3 separate regions of the Homo sapiens genome follow, and regions 2 and 3 are each linked to region 1. Evidence: promoter capture Hi-C in 16 types of primary human blood cells and fetal thymus (Javierre and others, 2016). All regions are on one chromosome and are shown on one strand. The core of a region is centred on a gene start or on the middle of the fragment in contact, and the rest is flanking DNA. Distances in the headings are between cores, read along the strand shown.

Region 1 (3,795 bases), core at 666-3,165:
GGCTAATGTCTTTGTGAAATTTGCACCTTTTCCCCATGTCTGTGTGGATTTTCTCCAGGTACTCCAGTTTCTTCCCACATCCTGAAGATGTGTATTTCAGGTGGGTGGGCATGTGTCAGCGATCTCAGTCAAGGTGAGTGTGGGTATATGTATGAGTGTGCCCTGTGTTGGGATGGTGTCATGGCCAGGGTTGCTTCCCACCTTGTATCCTGAACTGCTGAATGGGCTTTGGCCTCCTGTAACCTGAACTGGAGTAAGTGGGTTGGAAAATGAAAGAATAAATGAATACAAATTATTATAAGATAAAATATAAAGTATTTGATAATCATACAAATGCAAAATAATAAGAAATGTTGTATGAAAGTGCTTAGAGAGTCTGCCTTATTGAATATTGTTTGTTTTTGAACTGTGTGTTGGTAGGAGGTACTCCTGACAATTTTCACTTTACAAACATTTATTTCTTGATTTAACCTACCACCAGGATGACGGCTGTCACTCACTGATTCACCAAAAATTGGACAAATTGCTTACTTATTTTTGTTGATTTTTCTTAAATGTATGTATAGCTTACATTTATATCAATATTCAACATTAGAAGTGTTTCAAGTCTTCACTTAGAAATTTGTTGATGTTTTTGTGATACAAATATGCCATAGGAACTAATTCTTGTTTATATTAATTAGCCTATAGTAAAACTGGTTTTGTTACATGGCATCTCACTTGAAGTTGAAGTTTCCAAGACCCTATCAACAACGTTGAGAACTTACTGTCATAGGTTGAAAAACTGTACACCAGGAACCGGACCAAAATAGATCTGACAGTAATATTGATATTAGAAAACAACTTTAAGTCTAATAATGATTTTTCTCTAAAGAGGTTGATTACTTCATGATAGAAGGATCATGTCACCATGATGACACAGACTGTTAGTGCACATCAATATCCATTTTGTCCTCTTCTTTTTTGGCATACAACCAAAACTTACATAGGCTTTTTATCATTTTACTGGGCCTATGTAACTGAGTTTTAGCCAGTGGAATATGTCCAAGTGACATTTGCCACTTCTAGGTCTGGCACATTAACACTTGATGTATTACATTTCAGACCCTCTTATCATTCTGCAGTGTGTTTGGCGATCTGTTGTTTAAGATCTATATGCACTGGTTACTGTTGCTTGCCTTCCATTCCTACCCTTACTAATCAGATTCCTATTATAGCTACTTCTGTCCTTGATTCATTTTGTATATTAGATGTGTGTGTGTTCATGTGCATGCATGCACCCTCACATGTAGGTGTATATGGGAGTGGTGGTAAAGACAGGATATTTCTTCAGTTCATGGGATTTTATTTCAGGAGAATTCAAACATTCACGTATTGGAGAAGATGACACATTTCTTGAATGTCTTGGGCTTTGAGCTGAATGCACTAACTAGAAGGGACTTCAGATTGTCCTCCTTCGGGGGAGGTAAGTATATTCTTCATATACAGGTAAGAGTGAAATGATAGAAGAATGTTCCTCCTCTCCTTTTCTTCCTGGACAACAGATCAAATATTTCTCAGATCTTTTACAGCTGAATTGGAGTCACATGGACAGGTATGATCTTAAAATATAAAAAATTATTTTAAAATTACATGCTAAAATTTTATAAAAATAAATGCTAAAACTAACTTAAACGGAAGCATTTGATTAAAAAATTTATCCAAAAAAGTTTGAATTTTATATGAAACAGGATAGAAGATGAAAAAGCTAAAGAAATAAAATATAAATAAATTATGGCTGGGGACAGTGGCTCACACCTGTAATCCCAGCACTTTGGGAGGCTGAGGTGGGAGGACTGATTGAGGCTAGGAGTTTGAGACCTGTTATTTGAGGCACATGGGAAGGAAAGTTTTCTTTGAGATATTCCACATTTTATAATATTCTTCAAGAGATTTACAGAGTTCCTTGAGTGAATTGTTGGTTTGTTCTTAATACTGAATTTCCTATTCAAATTTATTTAGAAGTTCATTTCTTACAGTGATCTCATCTCCTATTAAGATATTCTTCAAGGTAGGTTCTTGGCCAGTTTCTCAATGACAGATTTTTAAAAATATTGTTAATCTTTTTATTAATATGAGAACATAATTGTTCCAGATCTGGAGGCCATCCTTTAAGCTTCTTGCAACAGTCTGGGAGCAAAGAGTTTACTCGCCACTGGGTAGTGGGCCATGGACACCCCAGTCTCCACCAGAAGTTCGGGATTGCAAAATGGGACTCTGGCAGCAAATTTCAAACTGTATGCCAGACCTGGCCCTTTGCAGGTGGGCATCACTAAAAATTTAAATTACCAAAATTGACTCAAGAGTAAATCTATGTCTGAGGAGAAAGCCTTTGGAAAAATTGAATTAGTAAGCAAAAACCTACCCAAAATAAATAACAGTAAGTCTAGAAAATTTTACACAGGGATTACCAACAAACATTCAAAGCACAGAAAAATCTCTTTAGCACAAAATGCTACAAAATACAGAAAAAGAGGAAAATTCTGTAGTTTCTCTCATGAAGTTAATATATTCTAGTTAGCTGAACTAGAAAAATAAGAGAAAGAAAAATTATAGGTTAATCTTCCTTATGAGTACATGCAAGTATCATAAGATGTTGACAAATTGAATCAAGCATTTTAAAAAATGCATTATGATCAAATATGATTTATCCTAGAAATAATGTATGAGAGTTATAAAATTCCCATTAACATTAGGAACAAGCATTAATACTTATTATCTCCACCAATAATCATCATTGCTCTGGAGTTCCTAACCAATGAAATAAGAAAGAAATAACCAGTTATATGGATTAGGGAAGATCAAATATTGATTATTTGAATATTTTTTTTTATAGAAAATCCAATAATTGTACAGCTGAAGAACTGGAATAGGAGAGTTAAGCAAAGTTTCTACATACAAGAGCAAAGTGGTCAAATCAATAGGTTATCTGTAGGCCAGTGCTAATTACATTGACATGGTGGCCTTAAAATTTTTACATGCAATTCATAAATCAGTTTCACTGATATTACTTTACCAGATATTGATATTCTAATGTTGTAATTATACAACTGTATTATTGTGTCAGAAATAAAATTAATAGACCAACAAAACAAAACTCAGAACAGATTCACATATTTGATAACTTGGTGTATGACAAGTGTGACATTAAAATTCAGGAGTAAAATAAAAAAATAACAAATAATGCCGGGATAATTGGTTAGTCACATGGGAAAAAGTCAGAAAGATCTCTGCCTCACTCTATTTACATGGAATATACTTCAGATGAAAGAAACTTAAATACAAAGAGCAAAACTTTAAGACTTTTAGAAAAAGATAGGAGAATTTATGACTTCCAGTAAGGAAAGCTTTCTTAAGCTAGATGCAATGGCATAAACGACAAAATGCATTTTTTTTATAACATTAAATAAAACATGTGTTCCGTAAAAGACACCAAAATACAATTAAGAGATAAGTTACAGTGTCTTAGTCCATTCTGGCTGTATAAAAAAATACCATAGACTGAGTGGCTTAAACAACATTTATTTCTCATAGTTTCTGGAGGCTGAGCAGTCCCAGTCAAAGAGAGCCCACTTTCTAGTTTATAGACCACCATCTTCTCACTATGTCCTCACATGGCAGAAAAACAAGATGGCTCTCTGGAGTACTTTTTACAAGAGCACTAATCCTATTTATGAGGGATTCACCCTCATGATATAATCACTTTCCAATGGCCTCAGATCCAAATACTATCACTTTGGAAGGCAGGATGGGGGT
Region 2 (4,316 bases), core at 1,435-3,934, 130 kb before region 1:
CAATAACATAACAATAACAATAATAAAACAACCAAAACAATTGTAATTCTGTATAAATCTTTGTTTGAATTTATGTATGAAACACATCGAGTGGCCATTAATTAGCCAAAAAATCAAATTTACATTAAAGAAACTATTTCTCCCAAACAGATACTACCTTGGGGAAATTAACTGTATAATTAAGCTGTTATACTTGAGGCAAGCTTAGGTGGAATTTAACTTGATACACTTTGTGAGAGGGGGAGAGTGCTGATTGTAAAACCAACTGATAATGTGATGACCGATCCCATGACAAGCATATTAATCTATACTTTAGACCATGATACAGGTAGAAATGTATAAGGGGATTTGGGTTATTTTTAAGCTTCTCAAATATAACATTAGATTTTAAAAATCATTTTAGCCTAATATTCAAATCAAATTGCAGCCATATTTTTAAAATGTTTATCTAGTGCTTTGGGGAAAAGGAGAGAACTAAGGTTTATTAAAAACAAATCTAAATATTCACTTTGGTTTTTACATATTTCTGGAAAGCTGTGTACTATTGCTTTATTCAATTATGTCTTTAGTTTGTTGGCTATTTCAATGAAGCTGAACTTTATTAATATCTAGAGACTGTCTTTATATTACAGCAAATTAAAACCAAATCAGTTACCATAGCTTTTTGAAATAGAAGAGAATAACCAGAGACCCCCACAGCCCAATAAATCAACAAAAACTGGAAATACCATTTATGGAAATACAGAAATATTATGTATAAATACATTAAAAAATGTTCTATGTTAGGCTTGCAAAACATGCTGAAATGTCATTATGGTATGTGACATTTTATTCAGAAAGAGGGACCATGGTAAAATACTTAGAAAATAGGATACTGAAGTTTAAATTTCTAACTCAATTTCTAACATTTAAAAAAATCATGTAAGTTACCAAAATGTTTTGAGCACTACCTTTCTCATCTAAAAATTAGGGATACATAGCCGTAAAATTTTATGTGCATTACATGTGAAATGAGCATTAAATGAGATATTTGATAAAGATGTGAAATATGACGTTCAGTTGTAAGCTCATTCAGGTTTATTCTGTGAGTCTCACGCTAGGATCTAGTTTTAAGAGCATCTTCCTCATATCTAGGGTTGGCAAATTATATTTCCAACAAAGCCACTTTCACTTCTTAACCACCTTTAAGTTCCTTCGTTAGAATATAAGCAGAAATTTAGCTGTATTTGTATAAAATACAACCATATACTCCAGAAATATTAGGGTTCAAAGAAAGCAAAAAAATTTTTTAAGAGACAGTGTCTCAGTTTGTTGCCTAGGCTGGCTTACAGTGTCTCGATCTTACTCACTGTAACTCAAACTCCTGTGCTAATGCAATCTTCCTGCCTCATTCTACCCAGTGGCTGGGACTACAGGCATAAGCCAGAACACCTAGCTAATTTTTTACTTTTGTTATAGAGGTGGGTTCTCCCTTTGTTGCAAAATATTTTTTAAAGAGTGTTTTTTAAAAAATATTATTTCTTCACACAATTACTTAATAGACGCTATAAGAAGGACACTGCACATGGATTAATAGCTAATCTAAAGTAGACATTATATCTCGACTTGGCTTAGAGAATAGATTCCTAAAATATCTTTCCTTGTGTTGACTGACTTTTATTTTCAGACATGGAGTTCAACCAGTGAAGAATAATGCTTGTTAGCAAAACTAACTGGTTAACTGGCTTACCTTTGGATTATACTGAGATGACCTATAACCTTTATGCAGAGAGGATTTTAAATGAGCATTCTCAGTTGGCCTCAACATCATAGAGTATTTAAAGGTCAATTTAAAATGGAGTTTTCATTCCTAATAACCCTTCACTGTGTTTGTTTTTGCATTTCTTTCAGAAAACTTTTTACATATGAAATCTCATTCCTTAAAATAAGAGATGATTAGATTTCAGGCGTTCTGTCACTTTATCTTGAATGCGATCATTTTCTATTCCAGTTAATAAGAAAACATGGGCTAACATAAAAGTATACTGTAGTTTGAGAAACAGTAATCTTACCTCTGCTTGTTCTGGAGTTTCTCCTGCAAAGTAAAAGATGTAATGTTCTTCACTAAAGTGCTGAACTACTATCTGAAAACAGTTTGGCCTTTAAAATAAAAACAAAAATTATTAGGAAGCTTAATAAAAAGTAGCAAAATATTTATACCAGCTTCCAAAACACTCACAATAAATAATTAACATAAAATTATAATTCTTAAAGAAATAATACTCCATTGTACCAGATCATTACTAAAAAAAAGTCAGCTATATATATTTTAGAAAACTTTATGTCAGCACTATTAAAATGTTATCAGTATTTCAAAGTGTAAACTAAAGAAATTTCAATTAATTGTAAAATACATTAGAAATAAAGTTACAAACAGATTGAAGCTGAACTGCTAGAACTGCACACAGCTAATTTGAAAAGCTTTATATGCACTGGAAAAAGACTAGAAATGTTCTTAGACCAAAAATGTTCTAAGTAATTATCTCTAAGGAGATTGTAGGTGATTCTGTATTTTCAAATTTTTCTAAACTGATCATTTTTCTTCACCTGTTAAAATGGAAACATCATCTCTTCATACATATGCTTGTTCTAGAGTTTAAGTGAACAGTTGTGTACAACAAATGTTCTTGTCTTCCTTTAGTATTATTTCAAATCATTTGATATGTAAGTACAATATTAGGTAATAATTTATATCATTTTGGAAATGTGCTATCTTTCCAACTAGACTTGAAAATATTGGTAAAATCTTTATTAAGGGCCTGCATGTTTTTGGAACTCAATAAATGTTACTTCTGTTTCCTGCTTTAAAGATTTTATATCATGCTAATGTTAGGAGGCCATAGCAAAAATACACAGAGGACAAGCTTAACACTTATTAAAGATAAAGACTATATTTTCATGCTTTGAGAATGTCTTAAAAGTAATCATGGAAAATAGGAATTGGAAACTTCTAATCCTAAATGTTGCCTGTATCAGACTAACCACCCTAGTTGGATAAAACTTAAAATAGTAATACAAAACAGAAAAACAACTGTTTGAAAGCACTGGAGAACAACCAAAGCAGCTAAGATTTGAGGAGCCAAGATCATACTATAATTAACCCGACATTCTCCACATCTTTTCCGTTCAAGGCAGTTGCCAGTTCCTAAGCTGGCTGTGTAGCTGAGACGCTAAGCAGAAAATAGTTCCTAAAAGGCTAAAAAATTAACTACAAATCCAGTAGTTTGATAGTGCTAGGAGAAAAAAGAATGAATTTCAGGCTTTCCATTGAGACCCCTGAAGGGCTGTGCCTTCATGATAAGGGCAAACCAGAAATAGAACAGCCTTTACAAGATGTACTAACCCTATACCATCCGTAAGAACAATTCTTTCTGGACGCAATAACATTAGTTTCCATAGTTTTTCATGTACAATGTCTACCACTTAGTCAAACTAAGTAGACACTACAGGCATCAGGATTAAATGGCTAAAAGTTAAGATGAAAAACCAGAAAGACATACATATAATGCAGATACTGAAGACAGACAAGACTTTCAAGTAATTATAATTAAAATGTTTAAGAAAATAGGTAACAAGAATTTTGCCAGAAACTGTATCTTTAAAAAAATGGAAATTCTAAATTGAAAAAAATGTAATAAAATGAAGTCCTGAAAAAGTGGATTTAACTGCAGAATGGAAGATTAGTGAACTGAAAGATCAGAAGAAAATATATAGGTTGGTACAGAGGAAAAAGGATGAAAAACAGAAAACAGCATGGGAAATAGTGCAACTTTTTTTTTAACCAGACTCCAAGAAGAAAAAGGAATGTGGCAGAACAACTGTTTAAATTAGATACTAAACATTTAAACAGATACTAACCAAGAGTTTTCTAAAACTGACAAAGAACATCAGGTCTCAGATTGATGAAGCACTACAAACCTAAGGATAATTTTTTTTTTAATTTATAGTTGGTACATTTTAGTTTTCCCACTAAAAATATAAGGAAAAATCTCAAAGCATCCAGAGAAAGTTGTGTGAGATACATTACCTCTAAGAGAAAAGACAAAGATACATTACCTCTAAAACAGAAACAATTTGAATGACAACGAAAATGTTGGAAGGCAGAAAACCATCTTTAAAATGGCAAAATAACTGCCAATCTTGAATTTAATATCCAGCAAAACATTTTCATAAATAAATGTAAAGCAATAAATACCACAGTGAGATCCAGCTATGAAAAGATGGTGTAAAAATTAATTACCACATGGATAGTCACTAGAATAACTTTGTGTCACTAA
Region 3 (4,428 bases), core at 1,853-4,352, 130 kb after region 1:
GTGAGGGAAAAGAGAGAGGAGAAGTAATTTTGCTTCTGTTCCTCATATCAATGTTATAATTTCTTAGTATCTATATAATGTGTAACTATTTTGTGATAAGCTTCACTCCCCTTATTCTCTTTTTATCTTTTTTCAGTTCTGATAAAATATATGACAAAAATGTGAGTAATATTTTTGTGCCTCTATTGCTTAATAATGATGAACTACTAATCCGGTTAATTCTATATCTCATGCCAACTGTCCACTTACTCAGAAGATCAGGAGGCTGGAGGCCCTGTCATTGGAGAGTCTGATTCAATCAGGTATGAGTATGCCTATGGAATCCATTATTTGATAAGCTCCTCAGATGGGCGTGACAGCCAGCCAGCATTTTGAGTCCTAAACTAAAAAGTTCTTTCTTTTTAATATCTCCATCACCCTTTCTCTGCAACTCATACAGGAGGCACAGTAATCCTTCCCCTGAGATTAATTTATCATCTCAGCAATGACCTAATCAATGTATTACCTCTTTCATTTTATATTTGAATTTTAAGATAGACTCCAAGGTGTTAAAATATAGCATCAGTTCTCTTTTGAGATCCCACCATTTCCAGAATTATCTAAGAATCCATGTGGAGTAATTCACTCAGTCCAAAAGGTTCAGTCCACTTCCCAAGGCCAGCTGGGGAGAATAGTGGAGAATTTAATCCATTTGCTTCTGGCAGACACTAGTAGTTGATGGATGCTTGCAGTTGTGCTCTTAGTGGCCAGATCCTTGCCTAGGGGCCAAGCTTCACACTTAGACTTTCTGGTTAGAACTCCCTTTATTTCACAAGTTTGCCAAAACAATGATGGTCCTGAGGGCTTCTAGACTAATTTTTTTGTGCATGTATATGACATAATCAGTTTTTTCTCAAAAGTCTATAGATCCTTACAATAATCCTATCACTTCAGCTCAGACTACCCTTTCATTGCGGTGAGTTGAGGTCCTCACTAGGCAGCACAATTCTCAAACTTTACCTTCCTATTAAAATCACCTGAAGGACGTATTAAACACAGGTTGCTGGGCTCCAACCTCTGAGTTTCTTACTCATAGTTGCTATGAACTGAACTGTGCCACCCACATATATATGTTGAAGTTCTAACCCCCGGTGCCTTAGAATGTATTTGGAGATAGGGCCTTTAAAGAGTAAGGTTAAATGAGGTTACAAGGGTGGTGCCCTAATCCTACATAACTGATGTCCTTATAAGAAGAGGAAGAGACACCACTAGATACATGCACACAGGGCAAAGGCCATGGGAGGACACAGCAGGGCAGAGACTCATCATCTGCAAGCCAAGGAGAAGTCGAATTTGCTGACACTTGATCTTGGGCTTTTAGCTTCCATAATTGTGAGACAATAAATTTATATTGTTTAAGCCAGCCAGTCTGTTGTATTTTGTTATGGCAACCTTAGCAGACTTATACAGTTGGATTGGGGTGGGCTCATGAATTTTCCTTTCTAACAAGTCCCCAGATGATGCTGATATGGCTGGTCTGGGGAGCACCCTTTGTGAATTACTGGGCTGGGAAATCTTCGTCAGGCCCACTTTGTTTTGTTTTGCGCATGTATATGACAGAATCAGTTTTTTCTCAAAAGTCTATAGACACTTTGTTTCATCCGAAGACCCTTGATGATCAGGAGGTAGGATTTTTATCCTTACGTTGAACTACTCAAAGTTAAAAAAGGCTCGGTTATGCTAGTGTCCATGACAGGGGGTGCATATTCACCTTACATCTGGTAACTAAAAGGCACATTGGAATAACTGCTTCTTGTTTCCACATACACAGAGAAGTTCTGGAAGTAGATTTTCCTATATTTTTTTCTTTAAAGTTATATCTTACCAGCAACTACTTTATATTAAAATACGGGATAACAGAACTGAGATACAAAAAAGAAAAATAAATCTCAATAATCTGACAGTAAGTACAATTCAGTGTAATTCAACAAATTGAATTGCTAGCAGATAATAATAACTGAGTTAACATGTTTCCTCTTCCATTTTATATTGGCATCTTACACTAGACTCCAATGTGTTAAAATACAACAAACTTTATGAATCTTAAGAATCACATGATGTCTTTGTTAAAAATACGGAGTCCTGAGCTACATTCCTACAGATTTTGATTCATTAGTTTGAGTGAATTTGGGAATCTTTATTTGTTATAAGGGCTTTTGGAGATTCTAATGCCGGTGGTCTGAATACCACCACTACATGAGAAACATGGACTTTGAGGAATAAGTAATGTGGGGATATTAATTTTTTGTATAAACAAATCAGCTGGGCATGGTGGTGCCTGCCTGTAGTCCCAGTTACTCAGGAGGCTGAGGTCGGAGGATCGTTTGAGCCCAGGAGTTCGAGGCTGGAGTGCAGTGGTGCAATCACGGCACACTGCAGCCTCAAACTCCTCGGTTCAAGCAATCCTCCCACCTCAGCCTCCTGAGTAGATTTTTTTTCCAAAAAAAAAAAAATAGAGGACATATTAGAAGATGTGGCTTTAAGTCCTACCCACCAATTATGACAATGCTGAACTGGGACAGCCTCCCTAGGTAAGATTTAGGACATGGAAGTGCAGAACATATCTTTGTTCTCTGATTTCTATGCACATGCTTGCTTCTTGGAGTTGAGTATGAACAGTTATTCTTTCAAAATTTACTAATCAGAGAAATATATCCCAAGAGGTGGAGTAGAGTGAGTAGAACATGGAGAGAGGCCAGTACAGGGGATCTCTGGACCTTGAAAAAACCCTCAGTAGTGGGCAGATAAGCTTCATCTTCCACTCCCCTCACCATTTCAAGAAAGTGACCACATTTGCAAAGGTGAACCACCTACTCAGGTTCCCATAGCTGGAAAGTGGTGGAGCCAGGATGGAACCTGGTCCTGAGTACCTCCAGAATCAACACTCCTGACTACTCTGCCAAAGACTTAGCTATATAGATGCAACCTTGTAGTGTGTGTGTGCAAATCCTTATACTGACAATGAGGGAAACTAAGTCCAGGTTAAATGTTTGGACGTCAACCGCGATAATCTGCCATCACGGCAGCCACTTCCTTTGGGTATATTTAATTTTAAGGGAAAAAATATATTTCCTGCTTTTTTGATTCCTGACTCCATTTCATCCTGGTATGCCTGCAGATGCTTCAGAATTACTTGGTATATTCCTGCCCTCAAAGAGTTGTAGTGGTCTTCGGTTTCTCATAAATATAAGACTGCTATATTACTGTGTTAAAACTCAGAGTTACTGGGCTGAATAAGCACAGAAGCACATTGTTTCTCAGCATTTACAGTTCTTTTTAGTTAAATGCTACATTCTTTAGAGTTTTGGGAGAACTCATTCCCTTTAAATCTCACCACAACTGTGAATTTGGAAATTAGATGAAAAAAAAAAGCTTATGAAAGTAAAATTCATATTCACTTCATATTCACACATACACACACACAATGCTAGTAACAACAGATGCCTCTGCTTGCAGTAACAGATTTATCCTAAATCTGGATACAATGAACTCTTTTTATTTCCTCAGATAAGCAGATATTTGACTAGATTTGGTGGAATATTTCTCTCTTGTGAGTTAAAAAAATAATTTTAGCATACAATTATGTAAAATTATGAAAATTAAAATTTTCATCATTGTTTTTAGATAGTGTTTCTATATAGTATTCTCCAGTATCTAGCACAAGACTGGCATATAGACCCATTTATTTGGTTATTCTTTCATTAATCTTGGCTTGGTTCTTCAAAAAATATAATGTTTTAATATTTAGATCACCAAACATTTAGAGAATTTCAGGTTTCAAGACATTCATACATTACTATAGTAAGCATTATTGTTGGATAACTAGCTTACTGATCATACCATAGCTAATAAGAAGAGATTGTCACTTTATCCCCAACTATATGCCGATCAATACGTGATGCTAGACAATGTTTATATGTATGAAAGGCCATGAGAGTAGGGTAAATGAGAAAAAAGTATATAATCTCATAGAAAACACTAGATCTTTGGCATATTTACATATCTTAAAAGTTCTTATTAAGTGAATTTTGGGTATAATTTGCAGAGACATGTTGAAGATAACTGACAATATCCTTTCTATTCTATATGTTATGCTAATTTGCTTCCACATTAAATCACACTGTTTAAAATGATAGCATTTTATATAAGGGTCTTAACAAGTACTTGATTATCGGATTGGTGGTTGTACTGTTTTCCCCCAGTAATAGCCAATACTTCCCTATTACGGAAGAAGCCAGTTAGGCTTTTGTTTTGTTTAGTTTTGCTTTTTCTTTTCCAAATCTGCTCAAAGGTTTAATTTTTAAATGTTTCTACGTCTTTTTCTCAGTGATGTACTATTTTTCAGGAACCATTTCAACTCTTTTAACAATTATACCTTAAGGGAATAAA

The links. Contacts are between HindIII fragments. The CHiCAGO score rates a contact against its expected background, and 5 or more counts as called.
Region 2: a fragment that was not itself captured here is called in contact with the fragment with the promoter of LINC01949 in region 1 in 2 of 17 cell types (activated CD4 T cells and M0 macrophages); the score reaches 6.6 in activated CD4 T cells.
Region 3: a contact is called between a fragment that was not itself captured here and the fragment with the promoter of LINC01949 in region 1, in 4 of 17 cell types (M0 macrophages, M1 macrophages, M2 macrophages and 1 more). The highest score is 20.7, in M0 macrophages.

What each region holds. Positions count from the first base shown.
Region 1 is chr5:87,237,321-87,241,115 of GRCh38, reverse strand. LINC01949 (long intergenic non-protein coding RNA 1949) reads left to right here and starts at 1,915. Exons shown (of 3, transcript NR_130914.1): 1 at 1,915-2,050; 2 at 2,135-2,301. All of the region lies in intron 2 of LOC101929380 (a long non-coding RNA gene), which reads right to left. The HindIII fragment of the contact is 4,009 bases long and covers 1-2,157 here.
Region 2 is chr5:87,367,636-87,371,951 of GRCh38, reverse strand. It overlaps RASA1 (RAS p21 protein activator 1), which reads right to left. Exons shown (of 25, transcript NM_002890.3): 12 at 2,052-2,139. It also overlaps a transcript of CCNH not described here. Among named protein-coding and RNA genes, the nearest start is that of CCNH, 43 kb to the left of the region's middle. The HindIII fragment of the contact is 443 bases long and covers 2,463-2,905 here.
Region 3 is chr5:87,106,761-87,111,188 of GRCh38, reverse strand. All of the region lies in intron 1 of MIR4280HG (MIR4280 host gene), which reads left to right. Among named protein-coding and RNA genes, the nearest start is that of MIR4280, 6.0 kb to the left of the region's middle. The HindIII fragment of the contact is 623 bases long and covers 2,791-3,413 here.